Linked DNA regions of Homo sapiens: regions 1, 2, 3, 5 and 6 are each linked to region 4. The links are contacts of gene promoters, found by promoter capture Hi-C in blood cells and fetal thymus (Javierre and others, 2016). All regions are on one chromosome and are shown on one strand. Each heading gives the region's core, a stretch centred on a gene start or on the middle of the fragment in contact. The rest is flanking DNA. Distances are from core to core; before and after follow the strand shown.

Evidence for each region. Contacts are between HindIII fragments. The CHiCAGO score rates a contact against its expected background, and 5 or more counts as called.
Region 1: the fragment with the promoter of NOL3 here is called in contact with the fragment with the promoter of PDP2 in region 4 in 3 of 17 cell types (megakaryocytes, endothelial precursors and M0 macrophages); the score reaches 6.0 in megakaryocytes.
Region 2: the fragment with the promoter of B3GNT9 here is called in contact with the fragment with the promoter of PDP2 in region 4 in 12 of 17 cell types (erythroblasts, M0 macrophages, endothelial precursors and 9 more); the score reaches 11.8 in erythroblasts.
Region 3: the fragment with the promoter of ELMO3 here is called in contact with the fragment with the promoter of PDP2 in region 4 in 8 of 17 cell types (M0 macrophages, activated CD4 T cells, M1 macrophages and 5 more); the score reaches 8.2 in M0 macrophages.
Region 5: the fragment with the promoter of TMEM208 here is called in contact with the fragment with the promoter of PDP2 in region 4 in 12 of 17 cell types (naive CD8 T cells, total CD4 T cells, activated CD4 T cells and 9 more); the score reaches 11.7 in naive CD8 T cells.
Region 6: a contact is called between the fragment with the promoter of KCTD19 here and the fragment with the promoter of PDP2 in region 4, in 3 of 17 cell types (M1 macrophages, M0 macrophages and total B cells). The highest score is 6.1, in M1 macrophages.

What each region holds. Positions count from the first base shown.
Region 1 is chr16:67,168,098-67,172,651 of GRCh38, reverse strand. It overlaps NOL3 (nucleolar protein 3), which reads right to left and starts at 2,114. Exons shown (of 4, transcript NM_001276309.3): 1 at 2,078-2,114. HSF4 (heat shock transcription factor 4) reads right to left here. Exons shown (of 13, transcript NM_001374675.1): 10 at 3,716-3,821; 11 at 3,551-3,616; 12 at 3,304-3,373; 13 at 2,711-3,021. The coding sequence ends at 2,867. RefSeq lists silencers at 64-227, 1,868-2,157 and enhancers at 2,368-2,517, 3,008-3,057. The HindIII fragment of the contact is 13,408 bases long and covers 1-4,554 here.
Region 2 is chr16:67,149,072-67,153,571 of GRCh38, reverse strand. It overlaps B3GNT9 (UDP-GlcNAc:betaGal beta-1,3-N-acetylglucosaminyltransferase 9), which reads left to right and starts at 2,574. Exons shown (of 2, transcript NM_033309.3): 1 at 2,574-2,707; 2 at 2,901-4,500. The coding sequence starts at 3,087. The coding sequence ends at 4,295. RefSeq lists silencers at 2,619-2,778, 2,789-3,218. The HindIII fragment of the contact is 3,664 bases long and covers 767-4,430 here.
Region 3 is chr16:67,197,332-67,201,987 of GRCh38, reverse strand. It overlaps ELMO3 (engulfment and cell motility 3), which reads right to left and starts at 2,857. Exons shown (of 20, transcript NM_024712.5): 1 at 2,584-2,857; 2 at 2,395-2,435; 3 at 2,232-2,304; 4 at 1,987-2,037; 5 at 1,627-1,796; 6 at 1,438-1,537; 7 at 1,180-1,331; 8 at 1,020-1,098; 9 at 553-603; 10 at 346-468; 11 at 115-246; 12 at 1-11. The coding sequence starts at 2,661. It overlaps E2F4 (E2F transcription factor 4), which reads right to left. Exons shown (of 10, transcript NM_001950.4): 8 at 4,342-4,389; 9 at 4,077-4,121; 10 at 3,070-3,980. The coding sequence ends at 3,865. RefSeq lists a silencer at 3,462-3,521. The HindIII fragment of the contact is 7,654 bases long and covers 1-4,656 here.
Region 4 is chr16:66,878,427-66,882,712 of GRCh38, reverse strand. It overlaps PDP2 (pyruvate dehydrogenase phosphatase catalytic subunit 2), which reads right to left and starts at 2,198. Exons shown (of 2, transcript NM_020786.4): 1 at 2,073-2,198. RefSeq lists a silencer at 1,745-1,924 and enhancers at 1,384-2,156, 2,405-2,484. The HindIII fragment of the contact is 2,608 bases long and covers 1,167-3,774 here.
Region 5 is chr16:67,224,305-67,228,783 of GRCh38, reverse strand. It overlaps TMEM208 (transmembrane protein 208), which reads right to left and starts at 1,654. Exons shown (of 6, transcript NM_014187.4): 1 at 1,560-1,654; 2 at 853-948; 3 at 370-429; 4 at 153-289. The coding sequence starts at 1,565. It also overlaps the pseudogene FBXL9P. RefSeq lists an enhancer at 1,502-1,851. The HindIII fragment of the contact is 11,037 bases long and covers 1-3,193 here.
Region 6 is chr16:67,324,659-67,329,187 of GRCh38, reverse strand. It overlaps KCTD19 (potassium channel tetramerization domain containing 19), which reads left to right and starts at 2,447. Exons shown (of 16, transcript NM_001100915.3): 1 at 2,447-2,483. The coding sequence starts at 2,481. LRRC36 (leucine rich repeat containing 36) reads right to left here and starts at 2,373. Exons shown (of 14, transcript NM_018296.6): 1 at 2,256-2,373. The coding sequence starts at 2,325. RefSeq lists a silencer at 2,331-2,480 and an enhancer at 4,236-4,315. The HindIII fragment of the contact is 1,968 bases long and covers 1,475-3,442 here.

The DNA of each region.
Region 1 (4,554 bases), core at 865-3,364, 290 kb before region 4:
AGGGAGAGTCAATCTGCTTTATCCATTTTTTTTTTTTTTTTTTGACAGAGTCTCACTCTGTTGCCCAGGCTGGAGTGCAGTGGCACATTCTCTCATCACTGCAACCTCTGCCTCCTGAGTTCAAGCGATTCTTCTGCCTCAGCCTCCCGAGTAGCTGAGATTACAGGTGCCCGCACCACGCTCAGCTAATTTTTTGTGTTTTTAGTTGAGACGGGGTTTCACTATGTTGGCTAGGCTGGTCTCGAACTCCTGACCTCGTGATCCACCCACCTTGGCCTCCCAAAGTGTTGGGATTACAGGCATGAGCCACCGCACCCAGCTGCTTTGTCCATTTATTGTCAACCAAGGATTATGGCCCATTCCTGTGAGTGGCCTGACCCAGCCAGCAAGACCCCCGGCATTAGGAGGCAAAGACATCAGGCCTTGAACCATGCCCTCAGCCCACCCCCACCCTGATAATAACTTCTTCTCCTCCCCGCCTTGGCTTTGTTCACACGGCATCCTCCCATCTCTTCTTCCCTTTGCTGTCCCTCCTCTGCCTCCTTCTCTGGCTCTAGGAGGCTCGGCCTTCTCTGGGAGAGAGGATTTAGTCCTAGCCGCCATCCTGCCTCCCAGGTCTTTCTCAGTACCCTCTGGTGTCACACTATACCTCCCCCGTCACTTCACACCCTGGCTTCCTCCCATTGAAGCCCTTCCCCACCAGGCCGAGACCAGGACTACCCCCTGCCCCTCCATCTCCCTTTATGTCCCGTATGTGATGAATCTTGCTTCTCCACTTCTCAGTGAGTCTCCATCAGCTCCTGCCTTGCCACCCCACCATCGTCACCTCATGTCCTGTAACAGTCCCTCTGAGCCCCTCTCACTCCCATTCTGCCAGGCCCGATAGCACAGTGACTTTGACAACCCTCTGGGCTAGGATTGCTGTTCCCATTTTACAGATGAGGAGACAGGCTCAGAGATTCAGTGGTAAAACTGGAATCTTACTTGCTCCAGCCTGAACTATGAGGAACTGAACTATATTTTCCTGTCTAGCAGAATTCCATCCTAAATACCTATCTACCTCCCCCCCACACCCCACTGCCCATCAGAGACAACCCAAAATATCTGGTCTGGCTACTCTAGCCTCCTCCCACCACCCTGGACAGCCAGGCCCTTCCCAGCTTCCCTCCACCAGCCAGGGATCGGAGAACTCACTATGCCTCTGGCACCTCGGAGCCTTTGCTGATGCTGATCGCTAAGACTGGAATCCTTTTCTCCTCCCTCCGCTCCGTGGACCTATCCATCGTCCAGGACTCAAATGTTCCCTTGTCTACACCAATGCCTAAGTGTCCCAAGGGCTGGTGGTTCCTTCTTCTGTGTACCGTGAACAACACATGCCCTCACTAGTGCATTAACTGACATCATTGCACTGTGTACACGCAGACTCTCCGCTTTCTTCAACTGAGTTTTCCAGAGTGTCCCTCCAATCGGTGGGCAAAGGAAGGGAGAGGGGGACAGCACCTACTCGGGACAGACACAGGGAGGGTGCAGATTGGATTGGCCCCTCCTTCTCTCCAACCTAAGTTGTTTTCATGTTAGCCGCCTCCTCCTATGACCCCAAGTCCTGCCCTTTATCCTGTCTGGGGGTAGAGACTCCAGCTGGTCTGGGCCCTCCCTTTGAGGCTCACACAGCTCTCAATACCGAAGTTATTTAGCGGCCAGTCCTTCGAGGGTGACAGGTCCGATTCTTCCCAGAGAGCCAGGTGGCGGGGCACGGAGCTGGGTCCCAGCCCCCAACCCCACCTCGCTGCGCGGGCTCTTTGGCCAGGAAGCCAGGGTCTTGGGACAGTGAAGAGCCTTTGCGCATGTGCGACTGCACGGATTTTCCCCCCCCGCCCCTTACCTCCCTCCACCCAGTCCCAGAGCTTGAGAGTCCTGCGGCAGGGCGGGGCCCACAGTCCTACCCACCCCGCCCCCCCGACCCCCGAGCGCCGCAGCGGGTGGTGGGGCGCTGATTCTGCCCAATCTCGGTTTCCCTTCCCTCCCACAGCCGGGAGTGGGGCTCCCGGTCTGGCCCGTTTTGGGCGTCCCCACTCACGGGTCAAGCCTCGGCGGGGCAGGAGATGACGGTGCAGAAAGGGCCGGGCAGGGTGGGGGTGGGTGCAGCAGCTGCGGCGGGGGCGGGGCGGCCAGGGCTGCTGGGAATAGGGAGGGTGAGGGTTCTTCCCCGGGCACTAGGAGCCACACCGCGGAGGCCGCGCGCTGGCTGGGGACGTGCATGTAGTCAGCTTTCCCTCCCCACCCGGGGCGCACCAGGAGATGAGGCCAGGAGGGGGCAGTTCGGCCCGCGGCCCCACACGTCCAGCGCCCACTCAGGGCCTGCCAATTTCCAGGTGCTTTCCATCTATCTTGTCATCGACCCCTCTTCTCTGCCTGTCACAGAGGAAGTTCAGAGAAGGATACCAACTCACCAGGATCACAGAACGCATGCATTGCAGAGCTGAGCGCGACCCAGAAGCCCCCGCTTCCCAGAGATTGCAGCGGCCCCGCGCCAGCCCTGGACCCGGGCCTAAGCAAGGGAGCTAGGCACCGGATCCCCAAGCACCTCCACCCTCCTGGGGTTCCTCTATTAAAAACCTAGTATCTGGACGCTTCTACAAATGCAAAATCACCCCCCACCCATAACTCCTGTGCTCCCTGGTCGATAGAGAAAAGAGACCAGAAACAGAAAAAAAAAAAACGGAGTTTATGTGCAGGGATAGTCGGGGTAGTGGAGAGAGGCCATTTAGTAGTGGGGGCTTCGCTCACCCCCGATAGGGGGCGCCAGGAAGCCAAGAAGGATGTGCAGCGGCGGACTGGTTCCAAGCCCCTTCAGAGGCGCGGGGTCTTAGGGGGAGGGACTGGCTTCCGGGCCCAAGTAGGAGGCAGTCCGGCTCTCAGGAGTGCTATAAATGGTTAAAGCCCCAGGCAGGCCCAGGGCTGGGCCTCCCAAGGCCGCCTGGACATCCAGCAGGAGTGGGGCCCCGAGCGTGGGGTCCTTCCCTAGGAGAAGTGGGACTGCGCTCACCAGGGGAAATGTTCCCCCTCCTTTCTTCAGGGAAGGAGAGCCCTGCCCGCCTGCCTTCTGCTCAGTTAGGATAAAACATCCATTCTTAACCTCCCCACTCTCGCCCAATGGTGAGGGCATGGGTGGCTCAAGGAACGCTCTGCAGTGCAGCCTGAACTCAGGATTTCCCTGCAAATTGCAGATTGCCCCCTCACTCAATCAAGGTAGCTCAGCCCAATCACGGCGTCCTCCCAGGTAGGAGTCATCACAACCATTACCTGGGCTTGGAGAATTTAACCCCTTGACCGCCAGCTCAGGCTCACCCCGCTCTGGAACCAAGGGCTGCATCTGCGTGAGAACCGCAGGGAGCAGCTGGGGAGGGGACCTAGCAGCTGAGGGGGACAGCTGGGAAATCACTGTGACAATTCTTCTAGAGACACGGCTTTGGCTCACAGAGAACAGCTATGGACCAGAGGGCTTGACTCAGCCACCCCTGGCCTCTGCCCTCCCCGACCCACTTCTTACCAAGGACAGCTCCATGTCCAAGTCCATCAGGGTCCATTCTCGCCCTTGGAGACTGGGGCCCAGCACCTGAGGAGAGCTCTGGGTCAGTGGTGCCCTCCCCAGGCTCCACAGAGAGCTAGACCCCACCAGGTCTCATGCCCCTGTTTCAGCAGAAGGGGTACTCACATCTAGAGGCCCTGCAGGTTCCACACTTTCTTGAGGGGGCTGAAGCAGCATCGGAGGCAGCAGACTCTCTGGGCTCCTGTCCCCGCTTTCCAGGCCCAGAGGCCCCCTGTGCAGACAGAACTGCTTTTGGCCTGCAGTGTCCACCCCGCATTAAGTTCCCAAGGAACCCAGATGCATCAAGATTTTAATCCCCCAATCTTTAGAAAATGATAGGAGAGGATCCCCATCCTCTCTCCACCCCCAACCTCCCCACTCCTGCCATAAATGGCACAGAGAAAGTGCCTCTGCTTCCTACCTGGGACCTGAAGTTTGGGTGGTGGAGCTGGGGCTTTGGGACCCTTCCCCTCCCTATGCAAGTATCAATATCCATGCTTCTTTCTCTTCTTTCTTTATTTCTTTCTTTCTTCCTTTCTTTTTTCTTTCTCTCTCTCTCTCTCTTTCCTTCTTTCTTTCTTTTCTTTTTTTTGGAGACAGTTTCACTATGTCACCCACTATGTCACTATGGCACTGTCTTGGCTAACTGCAGCCTCCACCTCCCAAGTTCAAGCGACTGTCCTGCCTCAGCCTCCTGAGTAGCTGGGACTACAGGCAAACGCCACCACACCCAGCTAATTTTTGTATTTTTAGCAGAGGCGGGGGGTTTCACCATGTTGGCCAGGCTGGTGTTGAACTCCTGACCTCAAGTGATCTGCCCGCCTCAGCCTCCCAAAGTGCTGGGATTACATGCATGAGCCACCTCATAGCCACCAATGCTTCTTAAACTATTGTGTACTTTGCAGTCACCCCAGGGAACTCATTTCATATGTAGGTTCCTAAGCCCTTCCGCAGATGCTGAGTGC
Region 2 (4,500 bases), core at 1,325-3,824, 270 kb before region 4:
CAAGTAGCTGGGATTACAGGCGCCCACCACCATGCCCAGCTAATTTTGTATTTTTAGTAGAGATGGGGTTTCTCCATGTTGGTCAGGCTGGTCTCAAACTCCTGACCTCAGGTGATCCACCCACCTTGGTCTCCCAAAGTGCTGGGATTACAGGCATGTGCCACCGCACCTGGCCAAGACTGGGAGGTTGATGAGGATGGGGGTGGGGGAAATGGTGGCCCCAGGCTGGGGCAGTAGCAGCAGAGATGGAGGGAAGGGGATGACCACCAAAGAGCTGTGTGGGTGGAAGAGTAACAGGCCTGGTGACACTGGGTGAGGAATGGCTGAGAGAGGGCCCCAAGTTTCTGCCTTTGCCAGTTGGATGGTGGGTGGGACTGCTTGCTGGGATGGGGCCCTGGGGGGAAATGAAATGCTTGCTCTGTTTGGGACAAGTTGAGCATGATGTTCCTGCAGTGCATCCGGGGAGAGAGTATGAGGGTAGTTGGGTCTGTAGTTCTGAGTTCAGGATGAGGGTTCAATCTAAAGATTGATGAATAGACAGGTGGGGAGTGGGTGGGGTGGCCCCAGGGGATGTCCTGAAGGACACCAACCAGAATGGGAACAGCCAAAGAGGAAGGAGGAAAACCAGGAGATTTGGAAACCAGGGGATTACCCACCCACTATAATGGAGCGGGTAGTCAAGACCGAGGAGTGTCTGTTGGACTCAGTTAAAAGGAGCTTACCAGTCAGGGGTCTTTCTGAGTCATGGTGGAGGCAGCCCGAAGCTTTATCACAGGAGGGAATGGAAGGTGAGGCCGCGGAGAAAGCTGGAGCAGAGGACTCCTGATTACTTTGTGACCAAAAAGAGTAAGGCTCAGGGTGGAGATTTGGCTTTTTTTTTTTTTTTTTTTTTTGGAGAGAGTCTCACTCTGTTGCCAGGTTGGAGTGCAGTGGCACGATCTCGGCTCATTGCAGCCTTCGTCTCCCGGGTTCAAGTGATTTTCCTGCCTCAGCCTCCCAAGTACCTGGGATTACAGGCACGTGCCACCATACCTGGCTAATTTTTGTATTTTTAATAGAGACAGGGTTTCTCCATGTTGGCCAGGCTGGTCTCAAACTCCTGGCCTCAAGTGATCCACCTGCCTTGGCCTCCCAAAGTGTTGGGATTACAGGAGTAAGCCACCACGACTGGCCTTTTTTTTTTTTTGAGACAGTCTCGCTCTGTTGCCCAGGATGGAGTGCAGTGGTGTGTTCTTGGCTCACTGCAACCTCCACCTTCCAGGTTCAAGCAATTCTCCTGCCTCAGCCCTCTAAGTAGCTGGGATTACAGGTGCCCACCACCATGTCTAGCTAATTTTTGTATTTTTAGTAGAGATGGGGGTTTCACCACGTTGGCCAGGCTGGTCTTGACTTCCTGACCTCAAGTGATCCACTCACCTCAGCCTCCCAAAGTGTTGAGGTTACAGGCATAAGCCACCACACCCAGCCAGAGAGGTGGCTTTTTAAGATTGAACATTGGTGGGAAGAAGCCGTCAGGAGCAGATATAGCCCTTGGACAGAGGATGGGGCTGGGTTCTTAAGAGACCAGTAGAGGCTGTCTATTCCAGGCTCCACCACATGGGCTGGGACCAAGAAAGAGAGAGCTGGCAGCTGAGCTGCGCAAGGACTTAGCTCTCCATTGCAGAGCACCTCTGTCCACCTGCATCCCAGAGCAATCCTTTAGCCAAGGCCTCCGCCAGGAGTCTTCCCAAGCTGTCCCCATCCTTGCCAGCCCTGTCTGACCTGCAGCTGCACAGGCCTGATCATTTCTACCTGCAGTAGGCTATGCTGGGGACCAGGGGACTCAGAACTGCACCTGGCTTGGGCTCAGGTCCATTAGCCCCCGGGGAGACAGGCTGAAGTGCTTGCCTGTGAAATTAAAGCAGACTGGGTTGGCCCCCTGTTCTGTATCCCAGTGGATGAATGAGCGGGGCAAGGACAGATAAAATAATCCTGGCCTGAATTTCAGAAGACCTGGGGGCAGAGCTTTCTGGCCTTTGGATCCTGGGCAAGTCACTTAACTCCCCGAAGAGCCCCCCAGTGTCCCCATCTGGGCATGAATGAGAGCTGCTGGCAGAGTTGCCCTGAGGATTGGGTGGGCTGCCTTGTTTGTCCCGTGCGTGTGTTTACTGGGGGTGGGGAGCATGGCAGAACCAGGAGTAAGAAGACAGCCATGTGTCTCGGGGGCAGCGTATGCACCCTGCCTGATGGAATCAGGGCTGCTGAGGAGAGGCCCGCCCGGGATGGTGGCCAGGTTCATGCGCATTTGGAACCGGCCTGCTCAGGGGCTCCTAGCAGCCCAGGCTCCGCCCCACTCCAGAGACGCGGGAGTGGGGAGTGGATAGTTGGGGGAGCTAACCAGGGGAGTTGATGCTTCTTCCCAATCCCCAGAAAGGCGAATTTGGGGTGTGAGCACCCAGACCAGCCCTTCCCAGAGGGACTGAGAGTGAGGAGGCTCCCTCTCAGGGATTAGTCCCCACTCTGAGGCCGGAGTGCTCCTGGCGCCGGGGCGGAGCTGAGCTCCAGAAGTCTGGGCGCGCACAGCTGGAGGGTCACGTGGCACGGCACCGGTCCCCCTTCCTGCCAACGCTGCATTTGGCTCGGGCCCGGTCCATGGCGGCCCCTCGGACCCTGCGCTGAGCCCCGGAGGCCAGGGCGTCCGGGGCTGCGCCACTTCCGAGGGCCGAGCGTGAGTGTCGGGACCCCAGGGCCCGACATTGAGGGGATGGCAGGGTGGAAGGGATTCGGCCTCAGCGCGAGGGAGGCGGGCGGGGGAGGGGCCGAGGCTCCCAGTCTCCCTGCCCGGCCCTGGGTCGCAGTCCTGGGCCGGAGCTGAGGCCGCGGGGGAGTTGGCTACATGGGTGAACTTCTTGTCCCTTCAGGCTGCCGGTCCCGGCGGTGCGACACGGCCGGGAGGAGGAGAACAACGCAAGGGGCTCAACCGTCGGTCGCTGGAGCCCCCCCCGGGGCGTGGCCTCCCGCCCCCTCAGCTGGGGAGGGCGGGGCTCGCTGCCCCCTGCTGCCGACTGCGACCCTTACAGGGGAGGGAGGGCGCAGGCCGCGCGGAGATGAGGAGGAGGCTGCGCCTACGCAGGGACGCATTGCTCACGCTGCTCCTTGGCGCCTCCCTGGGCCTCTTACTCTATGCGCAGCGCGACGGCGCGGCCCCGACGGCGAGCGCGCCGCGAGGGCGAGGGAGGGCGGCACCGAGGCCCACCCCCGGACCCCGCGCGTTCCAGTTACCCGACGCGGGTGCAGCCCCGCCGGCCTACGAAGGGGACACACCGGCGCCGCCCACGCCTACGGGACCCTTTGACTTCGCCCGCTATTTGCGCGCCAAGGACCAGCGGCGGTTTCCACTGCTCATTAACCAGCCGCACAAGTGCCGCGGCGACGGCGCACCCGGTGGCCGCCCGGACCTGCTTATTGCTGTCAAGTCGGTGGCAGAGGACTTCGAGCGGCGCCAAGCCGTGCGCCAGACGTGGGGCGCGGAGGGTCGCGTGCAGGGGGCGCTGGTGCGCCGCGTGTTCTTGCTGGGCGTGCCCAGGGGCGCAGGCTCGGGCGGGGCCGACGAAGTTGGGGAGGGCGCGCGAACCCACTGGCGCGCCCTGCTGCGGGCCGAGAGCCTTGCGTATGCGGACATCCTGCTCTGGGCCTTCGACGACACCTTTTTTAACCTAACGCTCAAGGAGATCCACTTTCTAGCCTGGGCCTCAGCTTTCTGCCCCGACGTGCGCTTCGTTTTTAAGGGCGACGCAGATGTGTTCGTGAACGTGGGAAATCTCCTGGAGTTCCTGGCGCCGCGGGACCCGGCGCAAGACCTGCTTGCTGGTGACGTAATTGTGCATGCGCGGCCCATCCGCACGCGGGCTAGCAAGTACTACATCCCCGAGGCCGTGTACGGCCTGCCCGCCTATCCGGCCTACGCGGGCGGCGGTGGCTTTGTGCTTTCCGGGGCCACGCTGCACCGCCTGGCTGGCGCCTGTGCGCAGGTCGAGCTCTTCCCCATCGACGACGTCTTTCTGGGCATGTGTCTGCAGCGCCTGCGGCTCACGCCCGAGCCTCACCCTGCCTTCCGCACCTTTGGCATCCCCCAGCCTTCAGCCGCGCCGCATTTGAGCACCTTCGACCCCTGCTTTTACCGTGAGCTGGTTGTAGTGCACGGGCTCTCGGCCGCTGACATCTGGCTTATGTGGCGCCTGCTGCACGGGCCGCATGGGCCAGCCTGTGCGCATCCACAGCCTGTCGCTGCAGGCCCCTTCCAATGGGACTCCTAGCTCCCCACTACAGCCCCAAGCTCCTAACTCAGACCCAGAATGGAGCCGGTTTCCCAGATTATTGCCGTGTATGTGGTTCTTCCCTGATCACCAGGTGCCTGTCTCCACAGGATCCCAGGGGATGGGGGTTAAGCTTGGCTCCTGGCGGTCCACCCTGCTGGAACCAGTTGAAACCCGTGTAATGGTGACCCTTTGAGCGAGCCAA
Region 3 (4,656 bases), core at 1,608-4,107, 320 kb before region 4:
GGGTTGCTGTTCTGGGGGAAGTGGGCACAGGCAGTTCAAGAAGGGCCACGGCCGCCTGGAACAACAGCCCTGGGCTGAGGCAGGGGTGGGGAGTTGGGTAGGGGTGATACTCACAGAAAAGCCCAGTTTGCGGAACTCTCGGGCACAGAGGGAACGGCGACGGTCAGCACTTAGCCCGGCACCCGAGGACTCCCCCTCCACCTCGAAGGCAGCCTGGCGTAGGACCTGCAGCTGCTCCCGCTGCTCCTGGGGTCAGTGTTGGGTGGCGGGGGAGGGGATCAAGATTATAGATTCAAGGCCAAGCTCTAAGCCACCCCCTGCCTTGTCCTCACCAAAGACACACACCTGGCTGTAGGGGTCCAGGGGCGTCCGCATGCGCGGCTCCAGCAGCCCCAGCATGAGAGCCTGCAGTACGTACAGGTGATGAGCCATCTCGTCGCCCATTGGTGCTGCACTGTGGATGATGTTCTGCAGGACAGCCAGTCCCTGGTGTAAGCGAGGGCTCACGGGGAGGGAGGGGCAGAGAGGTCCCCCTGGCCCACCACTTCCTACCTTATAGATGAACTGGCGAAGGTTCCTCTGCCAAAGATAGTCAAGCATGTGCTGAGGGGGTAGAAAGAAAGGGGGCTTAGGCTGGGCGCGGTGGCTCACGCCTGTAATCCCAGCACTTTGGGAGGCCAAGGCGGGCGGATCACGAGGTCAGGAGATGGAGGCCAACCTGGCTAACACAGTGAAACCCCGTCTCTACTTAAAAAAAAAAAAAAAAAAAAAAAAATCAGCTGGGCGTGGTGGCGGGAGCCTGTAGTCCCAGCTACTCGGGAGGCTGAGGCAGGAGAATGGTGTGAACCCGGGAGGCAGAGCTTGCAGTGAGCCAAGATCGCACCACTGCACTCCAGCCTGGGCGACAGAGCAAGACTCCATCTCAAAAAAAAAAAAAAGGGGGGCTTAGAGGATTTTGCTTCAGGGTGGGGCAGCGCCCACCGGGTGCTGCCCCCATCTAGCCACCGATCGACACTCACCTTGCGTTCCACAGGGCTGGCCCCCTGCAGCAAGGCTGTCAGCAGGGCCATGGCCTTGGTTTGCAGCTGCTGGTTCATCCTATGGCAAGAAGAGGGCTCAGTGGAACATTCAGGCTCCAGCCCTGCTCCCTGCATCTGGACCCCAGCCCCAGAGGCTTACACCTGTAGGTGCACCAGCAGCCTATCCAGGGGCACCTCGCTCTTGACCAGCTGGCCCAGGGCTGGGCTGCTCAAGGTCACACTCTCCAGCAGCCCAAGGGCCAGGGGAGGCACGGAGGCATCCATGAGGTTCATGTTCACGTAGCACACCACCTGTAAGGGGCGGGGGTGTCACCACCTCACCCCCATGGAAGACCGGGTCTACCACTGCCCCACTGCTCCACTGCCCCCACCCGCTGCCCTAGGAAAGCCCACCCACCTTCCTCACAAAGGGGATGCTCAGAGTCTCCCAGGACACCACGCCGTGCTCCATGAGCTCTGAGAAGGCCCTCAGGCTGAGGGCCAGCACCTCTCCTAGGCTGGAGGGGGGACATCTGGGGCTGAGCAGGACCACCCCAGGACCAGAAAGACCCACCATCTCCCCCAGCCCACACATCCCTGTGCTCACTCGTCCCCATCTTCAATGATGGTGCCTAGTATCTGGAGCCCATTACGGCTGATGACCTCCCTGGCAAAGATCATGTCCGAGGCCAGCGGAACAAGGCGCCTCAGGGCTTCCCGGCGCCCTTCAGGACTGTTACTCTGCAGCCCACCCAAGAGCTGCTCAGCCTCAAGGTCCTGGCAGGAACGGAGCAGGAGCAGAGGTGAAGAGGCTGGGCATGGTAAGGGTGGGACCTGGAAGTGTGCGGCCCCGGGCGTCAACTAGGTGGCGCAAGGCAGGGCTGGGGCGGGGGCCTCCGGGGCGGGGGGCCTCTGGACCTGGAGCAAAGGGGCAGGGATGGGGAAGGCGGGACGGGAGGGGCATTACTGGGGCCGTGCTGAGGCACAGGATGCTGCCATTCTTGATCTCCGCGCGGTTCTGGAGAAGACAGCAGAAAAGGCAGCGAGGTCAGGGAGGGCTCCGAGGACTGATCAACTGGGGTGTCGGTGAGGGCGGCTGGGGGTGAATAACAGATCGCGCTCCGGTAGTGGGATGAAGAGCCAGAGTTATCGGGGCCAGGTGGGTTAGAGGGGTCGGAAGGCCGAGCTTGGGGCTGGGGAGAGGGGACTCACATTCTCGGTGATGTATCTCCGGTGCCCATCCGCAAACTGCAGGGCGTAACGCTCAGAGTGCGTCAGGCTCCACCTGAGGGGCACGAGGCTCAGCGAGGCCGGCAGGGGGCGCCGCCCCTCCTGCCCTCCCGCCCTCCGCAGGCCCTGGCCCGGCAGCACTCACGCGTCGCACACCTCCTTCAGCACAGCGGCCAGGGGCTTCGCCTGCAAGTGGAGTGGTCATTCTCGCGGCCTGGGCAGGGAGGGATGGGGAGGAGCCTGGGGGGAGGGGTGGGGCGGGCTGCCCCGAGGGCCAGGGGGCTACCGGGAGGTGGGGCAGTGGGGCAGATGGAGGCGGGACCAGCCGGGTGACCTGGTCCAGCTGGATGAGCTGCGGGATGGCGTCACGCATCTTGATGGCAATCTTCACCACGTTCCGCGGAGGCGCCATGGTCCAGCTGGGACGTGGGCGCCTGCACTTTCCGGAGACCGTGCACCTGCGGCCAAGGGTGCACCTGGCCTGGGGCCCCTGGGGACGAGGAGGTCCTCCCTTTCCGAGACCTGACCTCGGTGTCCCGCACTCGCGGCCCAGACTGCTGCTCCTGGCCATGCAACGCGGCCTTCCCAAGGGAGCCGAGGTTAGTTCCGGGTTGGAGTCTGGGGGTAGGAAGGTAGGACGGCTCCGCCTGCCCCGCCCCGCCGAGGCGGCCCCGCCCCACACCAAGGTGCGGCAGGTGGGGGCGGGGAGGGCAGGCTGCCGGAGGCCGCCCCACCCCTAGTTCCAGCAAGGTGACCCACCCAATCACACTGCCAGTCCAGCACAGTCCCAAGGAGGGTCCCCAAAGAACCACATCAGAGCTAGCCTTAGGCATGGTTTTTATTCACTTGAACACTGTACAAATATTACAATTTCCTTTTGCTGCAAAAAGTATAAAAATAATCTTTATATAGGAATCCATTCGTTACTGTAAATCTTTCTAAATCTCTGCAAATGGCTCTAAATGAGGGTAAATGAAAAAGCCGAAATGAAGAGAGGGTTATGGGGCAGCAGGAGGTGGGGCCAATCATCAGGGCTGGACCACCCAGACTCCTCCCCAGAGACCTCTGTTCCTTCTTGGTAGCCGCCCCCACCACCTGCAGGTTCTAGGGCTAAAGGCCCAGCAGAAGTGGGCACGTGAGAGGGCCAGGAGGAGCTGGAGGGTCAGGGGGTGGGGGATAGCGAAGGAAGCTAGAAGTGGTGCTGGCATGTGCCCAGTTCCACCCCACCCTTCCCTCCTAGGGGAAGGAGCTGGCAGAAGCAAGACACTGAGGCTGGCAGGAACAAGACACTGCCCCCTATGGGGGGTAATGGCAGCTCCTCGGTTCTGTGCCACTGGGTGGCAGCCGAGCCTGGGCTGGCGAAGGCCGCAGAAAGGGAGAAGCAAACACTTTGGCTCCACGGTGATGGGGGCTGAGTCCTGTTCCCCTGCTCTGCGAGCACAGAAGTGCCAGCACAGGAGCGGGAGCTGTGGCCAGAACTGTGCGGTGAGGGGAGGCCGGAGAAGCCAGGCGTCTGTGGCTCTCAAGCTCTGTAGGGGTCGGGTGGGAGAGGTCCCCAGGCAACCCCCAGGTCAGACAGTCTGGGTCCCAGCCACACAGGGCATGTCCCTGTCAGTCAGAGGTTGAGAACAGGCACATCAAAGAGGTCACAGACACCTTCACTCTCGTCCAGGTTGTAGATATAATCGTGGTCTCCCGGGGGTGGAGAAAGACGAAGCAGAGGGGCAAACACTGCAGAGAGCACTAGTCTCAGGCCCTGGGCCAGGGCTCCCCTAGCAGCAGCCCAACCCCTGCCCACACCCACTCCCACCTTCCAGGGCCACCCACCTTCTGAGGACATCAACTCCTCCAGCAGCTCCGAGCTCATGCACTCTGGGAATGGAGGGAGCTCAGTTACTAACATTCCAGCTCCCACCTCTCCACCCACCAAAGCCCAGGAAAGGGAACCCCACCTGCCCATCAGGAACTTCACCCTTTGCCCCAGTTACCATAAGCGCCACAACAAGGTCCTCAAAAGGGCAAGAAAACAGCCATAGGACCCAATGAGCTGTGTCCCTTACCCCTAGCCTCAGGGAGGAATGCAGCAGCCTACCTCGTGTGGGATCAAAGATTTCTGACAGCTCTTTGGGGAGTTCCAAAACTGAAAAACAAGAAAGCCATGCTCAGGGCACAGAGGTCCAGCCTGGCCCCACTACAGCCCCCTGGCTTCCTCGGATCCTATACCACCCACCCTGAGGCTCCACACAGCTAAGGAGATGTAGGTCCTGCCTAGGCCAAGCTGGCACTGTCTGTTGGCCTCACTTGCTAAACCTGAATTCCTCAGTGCTGAGCCCAGGGTACCAAAGGCCCCCTGCAAGCGATTGGTACAGCTTTTCTAACTCGGAAAGGCCACAGAAGCCTCTTTCTG
Region 4 (4,286 bases), core at 949-3,448:
CAAATACTGGCTAAATATGACATTTTCAGAGGCCCAATAGCACACTAGCTGTGATACTATCTTGTGTAGCATCAGACACACTGCTGATGAGGTAACACTCCAGTTATCTATTGGTGGAATGGGAATATTAGTCTTAGAAGGTTTTGTGAGAATTTAATAAAATATGACGCTTCTGCTAAAAAAAAAAAAGTAGCTATTATTTTCATCATTAGGTATATACCCCTCTAAGTCATTCTGGGTATTTTTTGTTTGGTTTTTTTTTGTTTTGTTTTGTTTTTGAGATGGAGCCTGGCTCTGTCCCCAGGCTAGAGTGCAATGGTAAGATCGTGGCTCACTGCAGCCTTGCCCTTCTGGCCTCAAGGGATCCTCCTGCCTCAGCCTCCTACATAGCTGGGACTACAGGCATGTGCCGCCAGGCCCAGCTAATAGACAGGGTCTCCCCGTGTTTTCCAGGCTGGTCTCAAACTCCTAGGCTCAAGCGATCTTCCGCCCTTGGCCTCCCAAAGTGCTGAGATTACAGGTGGGAGCTACTGCGCACAGTCATTCTGTACGTATTTTTGTAGAGTTGTAACCCCAACTTTGAATCTGGCTTTCCTGATAAGAGTATTTTTTCACATCTGATGGCTACATTTTGACATAAATAATCACAACTTACTTAACTATTCTTTACGGCTGGAAATTTAGAGGTTGTTTCTACTACTTGCTATTTATTAATATAAAATACCAAACTGGACTGGGCACAGTGGCTCATGCCTATAATCTCAGCATTTTGGGAGGCCAAGGCAAGAGGATCACTTGAGGCTAGGGAGTTTAAGACCACCCTGGGTGATACAGCAAGTGCCCCATCTCTACAAAAATTTTTAGATTAGCTGGGCATGGTGGTAAGTGCCTGTAGTCCCAGCTACTCAAGAGGCTGAGGTGGGAGGATCGCTTGAGCCCAAGATTTCAAGACTGCAGTGAGCTATGATCACACCACTGCACTCCAGCCTGGGCGACAGAGCCAGATCTGTCTCTTTAAAAACAACAACAACAACAAAACCCCACCAAACTGTACTGCTTTATGCAGTAACCTTTTCTCTACTTAGGTTTTATCCTAGTTATTTCCCAAACAAGGAGTCAGTAGGTCCAAGGGTGTAGACTCATTGCCAAACTGATTTCCAAAAGCTTCACATCTGCCTCCTCAAGGGGGTGACGAGTTTCCTAGTCCCTTCACTAGCCCTGGTGGTACTTTTCCTTGGAATATAATAAATTAAATTAAATTAAATTAAATTAAATTAAATTAAAAAAAAAAAAACAGAACAAAACCTTGACCCATTATAATGAGCTTTTCATGTATGAATCCTGCCCTCGGGATCTCGAGATCATTTGTCGGGACCTCAAGAGTTCCCAGGACTGAGGACCGTCCCTTCACTCCCCCACCCCCTGCCAGCCCACCCCGCAGAAGTCGGTGCGGGGGCGGTCTGTCCGGGAGCAGAGGGCGCCTGACGCTCCGGCCCTGCAGTCAAGGCAGGCAGCGGTGCAGGGTGATACACCGCAGCCAGGACGCAAACCCTCTTGCATCCTTAAAGAAAACAGACAGGTCCCAAGTTCAAATCTCTGACTTCAGCCTCATCGCTAAGTGCATGGACTCCGGAGCCCACCAAAACCGATCTCCCTAGAACCCCGGCACGGCCGTACCCCAGCTGGGTGCCCCCGGGCGACCCGCTTGGTGCCTCTGAGCCCCGGCTTGCCAGCCTGTAAAACAGGGGCGTGCAGTCGGGACACAGAGCTCCAAGGGGTGCTCGATAGGCCAGAGCAGCTAGTGGGGTGCCCCGGTAGGCAGCCAAGGGTCCTCGGCGAGCCCGCGGGCCCACGTGGCGCGCGCACGTGAGTGGGGTGACCGTGGTCGTAGGCCCAGCTGGTCCCTCTCCGCCGCGGACCCGCCCCCTCACCTCAGCTCTCCCTCCGCCCAGTCACCTGAGCCGGTGCCGCAGGCCGGGAGGGTCAGGCGCCGGCGAGGCCTGGCGGGGAAAGAGGTGTCCACATCCCCCGCTCGTTACCTTCCCTACCTCGGACCCTCGCCCGCTTCTCACCAGCTGGCGAGGCCACAGCCGCCCGCTCCGTCCGGTCAGTTCAGCGCCTGCGCACAGTGCCACAACTGCGGCCACCAGGTCCTCACCTCACCCAGGCGGTCCCTAGTCAGGACCCAGCTCCAGAAGGAAGCGCCCTCCCGCCAGCCCTGGTTGGCTCAATTGCGGAGGCGGGCCCTTGATGGACAGAGGTATTGCCCAATGGCTAAAGAGGATGAGAGGCGGGCAGAAAGGCGGGACCCGGGAGGGGGCAACACCGCCCCTTACCCCCTGCCTGGGTGCTGAAAGTGTTCGAGCGCGGGGCCACAGGACCAGGCAGTCACGTGCCTGAGATCGCCAGCTACGTGGCCGCTACACTCTGCATACCCCGAACCCAGCGGCCTCCCCAATTCCTCACCGTTGTTAGAACACCTCACTGCTTCCTCTCCACTTCGGTGTCGACCACTCCAGAACCCTCTCTTGAGCGCCACACCCTGATGTCCAGCCACCTGGACACCTGCCTCTGGAGGCCCCCAGGCGCCTCAAACATAACTTACCCCAAACTCAGCTTTCTGCCAAACTTGCTTTTTCTCTTCTCTCCTAACCCAGTAATGGCCCCACCATCTGCCCAGAGACCCAAGCCAAAACCCTGGGAGGCATCTTGACTCCTTCCTCTCCCTCACCCTCTCTTTCCAGTTATCTAATGCTGTAAATCCTATCTCCTAAATCTCTCTCCACTCATCCATCCGGCGACGCAGCCACCCTATTCCAAGCCTCTCACTTGATTTTACGGTTTTCCCTCCTCCACCTTTGACTTGGTCCTAACCACAGAGCAGAGCAGCCAGAATGACGCCCCTCCCACCTTTTCTCGTGGTTGGTGGGTAGAGACAAGGTCTTTCTATGTTGCCCAGGCTGGTCTCAAACTGCCGGGCTCAAGCAATCCTCCCACCTCAGCCTCCCCAAAGTGCTGGGATTACAGACGTGAGCCATCACGCCTGGCAGAATGACACTTCTAAAACTCAAATTCCAAGGCCGAGTGCGGTGGCTCCTGCCTGTAATCCCAGCACTTTGGGAGGCCGAGGCGGGGGGATCTCCTGAGGTCAGGAGTTTGAGACCAGCCTGGCCAACATCACGAAACCGTCTCTACTAAAAATACAAAAATTAGCTGGGAGTGGTGGTGCGCGCCTGTAGTCCCAGCTACCTGGGAGGCTGAGGCATGAGAATCATTTGAACCAGGGAGGTGGAAGTTGCACTGAGGTGAGATCATGCCACTGCACGCCAGCCTGGGAGACAGAGTGAGAGTCTGTCTCAAAAAAAACAAAAACAGAAACAAAAACAAACCAAAAAAACCCTCAAATTCCTGCCCTAAAGTCTTTTTTTTTTTTTTTTTTTTTTTTTTTTGAGACGGAGTCTCGCTCTGTCGCCCAGGCTGGAGTGCAGTGGCGGGATCTCGGCTCACTGCAAGCTCCGCCTCCCGGGTTCACGCCATTCCCCTGCCTCAGCCTCCCAAGTAGCTGGGACTACAGGCGCCCGCCACTACGCCCGGCTAATTTTTTGTATTTTTAGTAGAGACGGGGTTTCACCGTTTTAGCCGGGATGGTCTCGATCTCCTGACCTCGTGATCCGCCCGCCTCCGCCTCCCAAAGTGCTGGGATTACAGGCGTGAGCCACCGCGCCCGGCCTCCTGCCCTAAAGTCTTTAGTGGTTTCCCACAAACCATTAAGCTTTGAACTGACCATTATATTGGCCTGCTACTGACAATTAACTCAGCACGGCTGGCGGCTGGTAGGTTGAGAGAGACAGCGAACCCCGACACCAGATAATCCCTCCGTCCCTTCTGGTCCTAACATTGTGGCATTCCAGTGATGACCTGCTTCCTTATAAATTATTTTCACAGAACTCTTGTAACTATGGTAAGTCAGATGGAGTCCTTCCCTGGAGACAGAGAAAAATGGGAGACAACCAGAAAAAGCCACTTGGAGCCCTGAGAGTGTGGTTTTCCAGAAGGAAGACACCCTGGCTTACCTGGGCAGCCTGGCCAGCCTCCTGGACCCAAGGACGTGGTCACAATAAAACTGCTCATGTCAGACTTGCCCTTGTATATTTATAGTTCCACTCACCCTTAGCCCTTTCCAGAAGTTCAAAGTCAGGACTGGCAATATCTCTCTTCCTGCATATTAAGAGGACTGTTTCAGACCCAAACTAAAAAAAAGTCTAAGGGTTTCTAATAAATGAGTG
Region 5 (4,479 bases), core at 405-2,904, 350 kb before region 4:
TAAAGCTGGAAAGACAGCATATGGGCCCTTCCACCCTTTTCAAGTTGCAACTCCCTTCCACCCTTTTCAAGTTACAAGTAGCTGTGCTTCTTGGGCTATCTGGGCCCCAGCCCTGGGGCCGCTCACCTGGGCTGGCGGTGGGGGACACTCACTCTGCCATGCCCTGCTCCATGTTGAGGTCCATGCCACCATCCATCAGGGCCCCATCCTCAGAGAACGCTGCTCGTGCCATCGAGCTCATAGAGTGGTAGCTGGCCCCATACACTGCCAGACTAAAGCCCAGGGCCAACTGCAGAGCAAGAATGAGGGTATCAAAGGCCAGCCACTGACCCTACGCACTCATCCACCTCCCAGGATGGAGATACTTACCCAGGCCCAAAATGAGGCAGATGAGTAAAAGAAGACCAACGTCACAAGGCAGTAAATGGCCTGCAAGCAATCACAGGATCAGGTTGGGGTCAGAAGTTACCTCCAAACCATGGGTCTCCCTCAACTCTGACCAAGAATTAGGCCAGGCTGTGGGAGGAGCAAGGTTGTTCTTACAGGGTTGAAGAAAGGGCCCTGCTCCCTGAATCCCAAATACCCACTCTCCTCTGACACCCAACTCAGCCCAGGAAAGAAGCCTTTGTGTACTTGGAGGTAGGAAGAGCTCTCAAATTCAGCTACGACTCACGCCTTCATTTTCTTTGTGTTTTACTAGTTAGCACTTTCTCTGTGCCCAGATCTCTCATTTCTTTTTGACTGGAGCTCTCTTCTAGAGCTTTTTCGGGTACCACTCCTCGTCACCAAGCAGGGCTGAGGACTAGGGAACTGACTATAAGTGGGCATAGAAGCAAGGAGGTAGGCACTTACATTGGCCCCCAGTATGATCCGCAGGTAGAACTTCAGAGTCTCTCTGTTCTCTTCAAATATCTGCTTCTTCCCTCTCGTGCCCACTTTGCCCTTGGGCTGCAGAGGAATGATGAGATGCCGTCAGGAGGCCACGGTCCTCCTCATTCTCCCCACCAGCCTGGTGAGCTATAGAGCTCCATCCGCAACTCAGCCAGGTCCCCGTAGTGCAGAAACCTAGCAAAATCCCTGGGATGTCCACCCATCCTCCAGTCCATTCTGCCTAGGGCTGACGCCATCTCTCCAGCACCCGCAGCTAGGATCAATCGCCTCTTGCTCGCCCTGGAACAATTCAATCCTAAGCTAATACCGCCTCTGGATCCCGTGGTAGTCTGGCTTTAGGCTAACGACTCTTCCAAGGGTACTCCTGAGCGGAGTTGAATGGTGCCTCTCTCAGGCCTCCGCTGGCGTAGTCCCGATCTGGGTTAACCCCCACCTCAGGTCACTTAGATCTCTGGCCTGCCCTGGTACTGATGCCCACCCCGCTCTGGCACTAGTCCTGGTATGGTCCTGCGCCGCCATCCCCCCAGCCCAGCTCTAGCACGGTCTGGCCAGGGATGGCGCCCCGCTCTGGCCCACCCCATATCCCTTAATGTTCTTTCTCAGTTTTCACTCTCACAGCCCCTGGAGAGCTTTGCTGGTGCGGACCCCGCCCTATCCATCCTCCTTACCGCCATGGTGCGAGGCAAATACCCAGCCCGGGAAACACGGGAGAGCGACCGAAACCGCAATCACTAAGCACCACATCGGCAGCTCATGCACTTCCGGCGCAGACCGAAGTCGTCAGCTTTTGCGACGGAAATAGGTCTCACTTCCTTCCCAAGCCCCGCCCCAAAGAGGCGAGACTACATTTCCCAGAAAGCCTTGCGCAGTGGGGGCGGAGGCGGCAGGGATGCGATGGCGGAGTCGCTGCCCCTGGAGGTGAGAGGAAGCCGCCCTCAGGCCTAGCTCTGGACAGGCCCCGCCCTCGCGGTCCTGAGCTTTGGGGAGGGGCTGTCAGATAGCTAGCCCGGCCCCTCCAGCCTGGCGGAAACGACCCGCCCTCCCGATCCCGGGACCTTCTAGCTCTGGGTAACGGTTCCTCCTTTGGGCCACTCTGTCCCTTTAGCTTGGGGGACCGTCCTCCCCTTCCCTATCGGCCCCAGAAGATAGCTGCCCTGTCATCTCCGCGAGAACAGGCCCTCTGCCCATCCCCTTCCCTTGAAGTGGCTGTCTCCTCCCCGCTCAGTTCTGGAAGATGTCCGCTCCATCTCATCGTCCCGAAGGGTAACTGATCTTATCCCCATTGGTCCCTTGGGATGATCTCTCCATTTCCTACAGAGACGGCCGCCCCTTCTCCCTGGCAGTGGGAAACAGACTGCTCCCTCCCCATCAACTGCAATGATCTCTGAGTTCCTTTAACAAGGATAGGCCTGTTCCCCATTCCTAGGCCCCTAGTGATGGCCGCCCTTACCTCTTTCACTCCGTGGGATGTTTGCTCCTTCCCCTTAGCCAGGGGCAAGACCACTCTGCCCCATCTGCCAGGGAGATAACAGGTTTTGTCTTCAGTGGCCTGTTGGAATGGCTTCTCCATCTCTTTTGTCCTGAGGGTTGGCAGCCCCCTCTCTCTGCCCATGGGAAACAGGCCACCCTTTCCCATCGGTCCTGGAATGATGCTCCTGTCCTTAGCAAAAATAGGCCTGTTCCCACCCCTATTGAGCTTGCAGTGCTATCCCTTTCCCCCTTAGCTTTAGGGGCTATCTATTTCCATCCCCATAGACCCCATGAGTGACCAATCATTATCTCCAGTAGCCCCCTTGAGATGGGACTCATGGGATGGTCACTCCATCCTCATCACTGCCTCCTCTTGTCCCTCTAGAAAGGCCACCCTCTTCTTAGGTCAATGAATTGTGTCCCTTCCCGACTCACCCCAAGGGATGACAGGTTTGTTCCCCTCTCCCTTTGCTCTTGGGCTGGCTGCTTAGCCCCAGAAGACAGGATGGCCACTGTCTTAACTCAGCTCAAACAGGCTTCCGTGCCTCCCTGGAGGGATTGGGACTTGGTCAGTCCCAGTCCCCATCAATACTGTCTTCCCTATGCCTCCCTTCCTGGCCCAGAAGTCTATTCTGCCAGTCATTGTCCTCTCAGTAATGACTGCTTTATTTCCCCGACCCCTTCCCTGAGCATACTCTTGGTGAAAATAGAGGTAGAGGACTGGACTGTCCAACCTTAATTTAATCCAGTAAGCACTGGCTGAGCACTGTGCCTGCGTGCTTGGCATCTGAGAAAGGAAGGAGAGATCACAATGGGTTGGTGAAGTTAAGCTTCAAGAAGGGGATCCCAGGGAAAAGGCCCGCATAGGCAAAAGGAAATAGACATGCTGTGTGCGTAGGGCAATGGGGAGACTGGACTGGGGAAGTTTGGGGACCAGCGAGTCCAATCAGGCACAGAGGCCTGGCAGTGCTGATCCAGGAGTGGAGACTGTCCTGAGAGTACTGTGAACCCTGAAGTTTTACAGCAGGGGTGAGCTGAAACTGAAAACTGTTTTATAGGAAAAATTAACCTTGTGACAGTGTGCATAATGTATTAGCAAGGATGAACTTGGAGGCAAAGAGTTCAGGTGGGAGATTGTGGAAGGAATCCAGGTTTGGGGTGGTAGAAATCTGAGCTACTGAGGTGGGGAAGTTGCAGAGGTAGAAATTTTAGTAACAGCAATCCAGCAACCATTTATGGAACATCTAGTTGTCACACACACACTATATATATGTAAAATTTAATCCCCATGAGGCTATGATCTAGATTTTTTTAAAGTATCCCTATTTTATAGATATGGAAACTGAAACTCCCAGAGGTCAAGTACCTTGTTTAAGGTCACACATCAGTATATGTGGAAGTAGTGGAGCTGGAATTTGAATGAGTTTAGGTTAGCCTGGCCTAAAGCCTGTGCATTACACCTGTATCTGGGAGGAAGGGACAGAATGGTTTGAATAGTTGAAAGTGTTATCAGGTAGATGCACTGTTGGCATTGAAAGGGGAATTTGGGAGGAGAGGCTGTTTTGGGCTGAGGGTAGAACATGAGTTTTGGTTGAGATTAAAGTGATGGCTAAACATTTGCATGGACAGTTGGCAATATGGACTAGCACTTGGATAATAGGACAATATGGGAATATTGAATTGTTGGTTATTCCTGTGTTGGTAAACAGAAAACCAAAAGACCCAGGTCTGAGCCCTGGGAGCCACAGAAGAATCCAAAAACGAGACAATTGGGATGCAGGGAGGAAGATTCCAGAAGAAAAGAAGAGTTAATATCAAATCATTCTAGGCCTCACTGGTAACCCCTTCCCCAGTCCCATTTAGGACCTCTAACCTCACCACCCCCTAGGTGGGGGGAAGGGCCTGAGCCTCCCAGGCTAGGTCTTGCTGGGAGCGCATCTTAACAACCAGTGGAGAGGGCAAGGTGGCAGTGAAGAAGACAGAAAAACAGCAGGGTCCCAGAGCCTGAGCCATGAGGGCAGGAGGACCAAGCATGACTTCCTGAGGACCAGAGTGAGCACACCTGGCCTGCTGTGCTCTAGGTCCTATGCAAGACACTTGGCTGTGTTCTTTAATTCT
Region 6 (4,529 bases), core at 1,198-3,697, 450 kb before region 4:
CTTATAATCCCAACTCTTAGGGAGGCTGAGGTGGGTGGATCACTTGAGGTCAGGAGTTCAAGACCAGCTTGGCCAACATGGCAAAACCCTGTCACTACTGAAAATACAAAATTAGCCGGGCGTGGTGGCGGGTGCCTGTAGTCCCAGCTACTTGGGAGGCTGAGGCAGAAGAATCGCTTGAAATGCGGAGGTGGAGATTACAGTGAGCCGAGATCACGCCACTGCCCTAGAGCCTGGGTGACAGAGCAAAACTCTATCTGAAAAATAATAAAAACAATAAATAAATAAAATACTACTGAAATATTTATGGAGGAAATCACATACTTGGAATTTGCTTCAAAATAGTCAGTGTAGGGGGTTGGAGGTGGGTGGAGGATAGGTGAGGTATACGTGAAAGAAGCTTGGCCATGAATTGATGATAACTGTTGAGGTAGGCTAATAGAGTTCATTATTCTGTTATCTCTACTCTTGTATATATTTGAAAATTGCCATAATATAAAATTATAAAATAAGTGATAAATGCTTATATATGTAGAGAATATTTCTGGAAAACTATCCAAGATACTGGTAACAGTAATTGCCTTTAGGAAGGGGAACTAGGCCTATGAGACGGGGATGGGGGAGTAAAGACTTTCTTCTCACTGTACAATTTTTATTTTATTTATTTATTTTTTCGAGACGGAGTCTCACTCTGTCACCCAGGCTGGAGTGCAGTGGCGCGATCTCGGCTCACTGCAAGCTCCGCCTCCTGGGTTCACGCCATTCTCCTGCCTCAGCCTCCCGAGTAGCTGGGACTACAGGCGCCCGCCACCATGCTCCGCTAATTTTTTTTGTATTTTTAGTAGAGACGGGGTTTCACTGTGTTAGCCAGGATGGTCTCGATCTCCTGACTCGTGATCCGCCCGCCTCGGCCTCCCAGAGTGCTGGGATTACAGTCGTGAGCCACCGCGCCTGGCCCTCACTGTACAATTATTATATTACCCACAGAATAAATTAATTGAATTATTTTAACAGTCAAAATGAGTAAATATTACATATTTCCCCCCTCTACCAAATTAATCATTAGACTACCGACATGCTCTAGTATATCCTTCCTGTTCTGTTCTTGACTGCACATCATACGCTTCAGCTACCATCTATTTCTGCAGTCTCTTTTACAGCTAAAATTTTCAGCAAAAGTTCTTACTTTCACTGTCTCTTCCCCTCAAATATCATTTCCCTTTTTCATCCCACTCCAATCTGGTTTCCCTCCTCCCCACCCTCCCAAAACTCCCTCTGTCAAGGTCACCAGTAAGTTCCATGTTGCTAAATCTAACAGACACTCTGCATTTAAGTTGCTCAGCCTGTCAATAGCATTTGGCACAGTTGGCCATTGCTTGCTCGATACACTACCCCTTCTCAAATTCCAAGATACCACATTCTTCCTCTATACAACCTCTAAACACTGAAATATTCCAAGGTTGAGTCTTAAGCTTTCTTTCACTTCTCCATCGACATTCTCTCCTTAGCTGAGTTCATCCACTCCCGTAGCTTTAAATACCACCTATTGCTAATGTCTCCAAAATTTTCATCTCTAACCCTGACCTCTCCTCTGAGGTCCAGACCCATATATCCAACTGCCTACTAGGTACCTTACACTTGGATGTCTAATAGACATTTTATTATTTATTTATTTTATTTATTATTATTATTTTTGAGATGGAGTCTCGCTCTGTCGCCCAGGCTGCAGTGCAGTGGTGCGATCTCGGCTAACTGCAACCTCCGCCTCCCGGGTTCAAGCGATTCTCCTGCCTCAGCCTCCCGAGTAGCTGGGATTATAGACTTGAACCACCACGCCGGGCTAATTTTTGTATTTTAGTAGAGACGGGGTTTCACCATGTTGGCCACGCTCAGGTGATCCACCCGCCTCCGCCTCCCAAAGTGCTGGGATTACAGCGGTCAGCCACCGCCCCCCGCAGTTCTGTCACCTGCGGCAGGGTCCCCTGTTAACCTTGTTTCTCCTTCCCTACTTCACACTCCCCTCTTCTCTCTCAATTCCTCGGGCTCTGCCCCACACCCTCCCGTTACTTCAGTTCCTCCACCTCCACCTCCCTCTAACCTTCTGCCTCAAGTTATCCCCCCGCCCCCCAGCCTCAGGTACCGCTTCTCTGTGGTTCCCTCGCCTCTATCTCAGGTTCCCCGCCTTCCACTTCAGTTTTCTTTCCACAGCTTCTGACCCTACGTTCCCAGTCCACACCCTCCCGGCCAGACCCTACCCGGCTGCTCCAGCGTCAGCGCCCCCAGGCGGCGAATGCCTTCCTCGTCCAGCTCCCATTGCTCCGCCATCCCCGCCCGCCGCTCACCTGCCACCGCCCGCGAGACCACCCGGCGCACGCCAGGCCCCGCCCACTGCCCCGCCCCCCGCGCGCGCGCCGCCGCGACCCCGGGAACCGTTATTGGCCGGGTCACAAGCCCGCCCGCCCGCTGCTGGAGCCGCGACCATGGTACGGAGCCCGCTCTGGCGGGGGCGCCAAAAGCACCAAAGCGGCGAATGGGGGCCGCTGTGGCCAAGGATTGGGGCTAAGTGGTTCGAGACCTGGCTCTGGGGCATGGGAGAGAGCGAGGGGCCCCCAGCCGGGAAGGATTTGGGGGGCTGGCTCTGAGGAGTTAGAATAACGCTCTGTCTTGAGGGATGAAGTGTTCTGGCTCTGAGGATGTGGGGGACTCCGGTTCTGAGGGCTGGGCGTGTGCCCCTTTGACGGGGTGGTCTTCATATCTCAGCGCTGGGGGATGCTGACTTTGGGGCAAGGCGAGGGTGTGTGTGAAGGGGAGATCCAAATCTGAAGGATTGGAGCGTGGGGACAGAACTCTAAGGCATGATGGGGAGCTCCAGATCTGAAAGGTTGGGAATCCTGGCTCTGAGGAGTTGGGGTCCTGTCTTTAGAGCATGAGGAAGTTCTAGCTCTAGAAATTGACTTGGACGGGCTGGGCGCGGTGTCTCACGCCTGTAATCCCAGCACTTTGGGAGCCCGAGGTGGGCGGATCACCTGAGGTCAAGAGTTCAAGACCAGCCTGGCCAACATGGTGAAACCCCATCTCTACTAAAAATACAAAAATTAGCCGGGTGTGGTGGCACGGCCTGTAGTCCCAGCTACTCGGGAGGCTGAGGCAGGAGAATCGCTTGAACCCGGGAGGTGGAGGTTGCAGTGAACCGAGATTGCACCACTGCACTCCAGCCTGGGCGACCTGAGTGACAGAGCCAGACCTTGTCTCAAAAAAAAAAAAAAAAAAAAGGTAAGAAATTTACTTGGACGGAGCTTCTTCGGGGGAGAAGGATCAGCGTGGGAAAGAGAGAAGCTCTTTGTAATGGGGTGGGGATGACTGCTTTAGGGCTACCCCGTTTCCTGAAGTCAGTCCGGCAAGAAGCCTTTTGTCTTTCAAGCACCACAGGTTCCCCTAAGCTTGCCTGTGACTGAGGGCTGTCGCCAGGCTGCGATAGCTCTGCACTAACCAGCCCCTGAGTAGTCTTTGGGAAAGAACAGCCGCATCCCTAACCCCTACCCTCACTCCAGCAGGCACTTAAGAGCCCACCTGTGGATGGGACATGTATGTAAGAAGGAGCCAGGACCCTCTTGTCACACCCTATCCTTAACAAGAAAAGAGGGTGGGCTGGGCGTGGTGGCTCACGTCTGTAATCCCAGCACTTTGGGAGGCCGAAGCATGTGGATCACGAGGTCAGGAGATCGAGACCATCCTGGCTAACACAGTGAAACCCCATCTCTACTAAAAATACAAAAATAAAACAAAATAAAATAAAATAAAATAAAATAAAGCCGGGCGTGGTGGCGGGCGCCTGTAGTCCCAGCTACTTGAGGAGGCTGGAGGCTGAGGCAGGAGAATGGCGTAAACCCGGGAGGTGGAGCTTGCAGTGAGCCAAAATCGTGCCACTGCACTCCAGCCTGGGCTAGAGAGCGAGACTCCGTCTCAAAAAAAAAAAAAAAGAAAAAAAGAAAAAAAGAAAAAAAAGAAAGAAAGAAAAGAGGAACTGAGACCAGAACTGGGGCTCACCTTCGAGAAGTAGGTTTTCTTTGGCATCCAACATCTGCACACTCTGAGCACCCCCATTGAGCTCTCAGCCACCTTTAAGGAGAACAGAAAGCAGAATCAAGGGTCCTTCCTTGCATATTTATGCTTTCTGGTCTATGTGAGACCCTTAGTCACTCCATTTGTTACATTCAGCCTTTGCCTGAACATGAACTTGTAGAAAGGCTTTTAGAAGGGCTGGGACTTAGAATTCTAGGTTAGCTCATTAGATTGACTTTTCTGGCTCTGCTTCTGTCAGTTATGCAATCATTTCACAATTTGTCATATTTCTCTTATTACCCCCTTTAACTCTTCTAGTCTCAAATGTGGCATATATAATTGCTCTTCTTTATGTCTGAATATTGCTGTGGGAGAGATGGACCCCATCCCATTCTTTCTTGCATGCATTTATTTTCCTTCCTCAGCTGTCAGAATGGGAAATGCAGGTTCTTTCTGGAGCAGGGAGC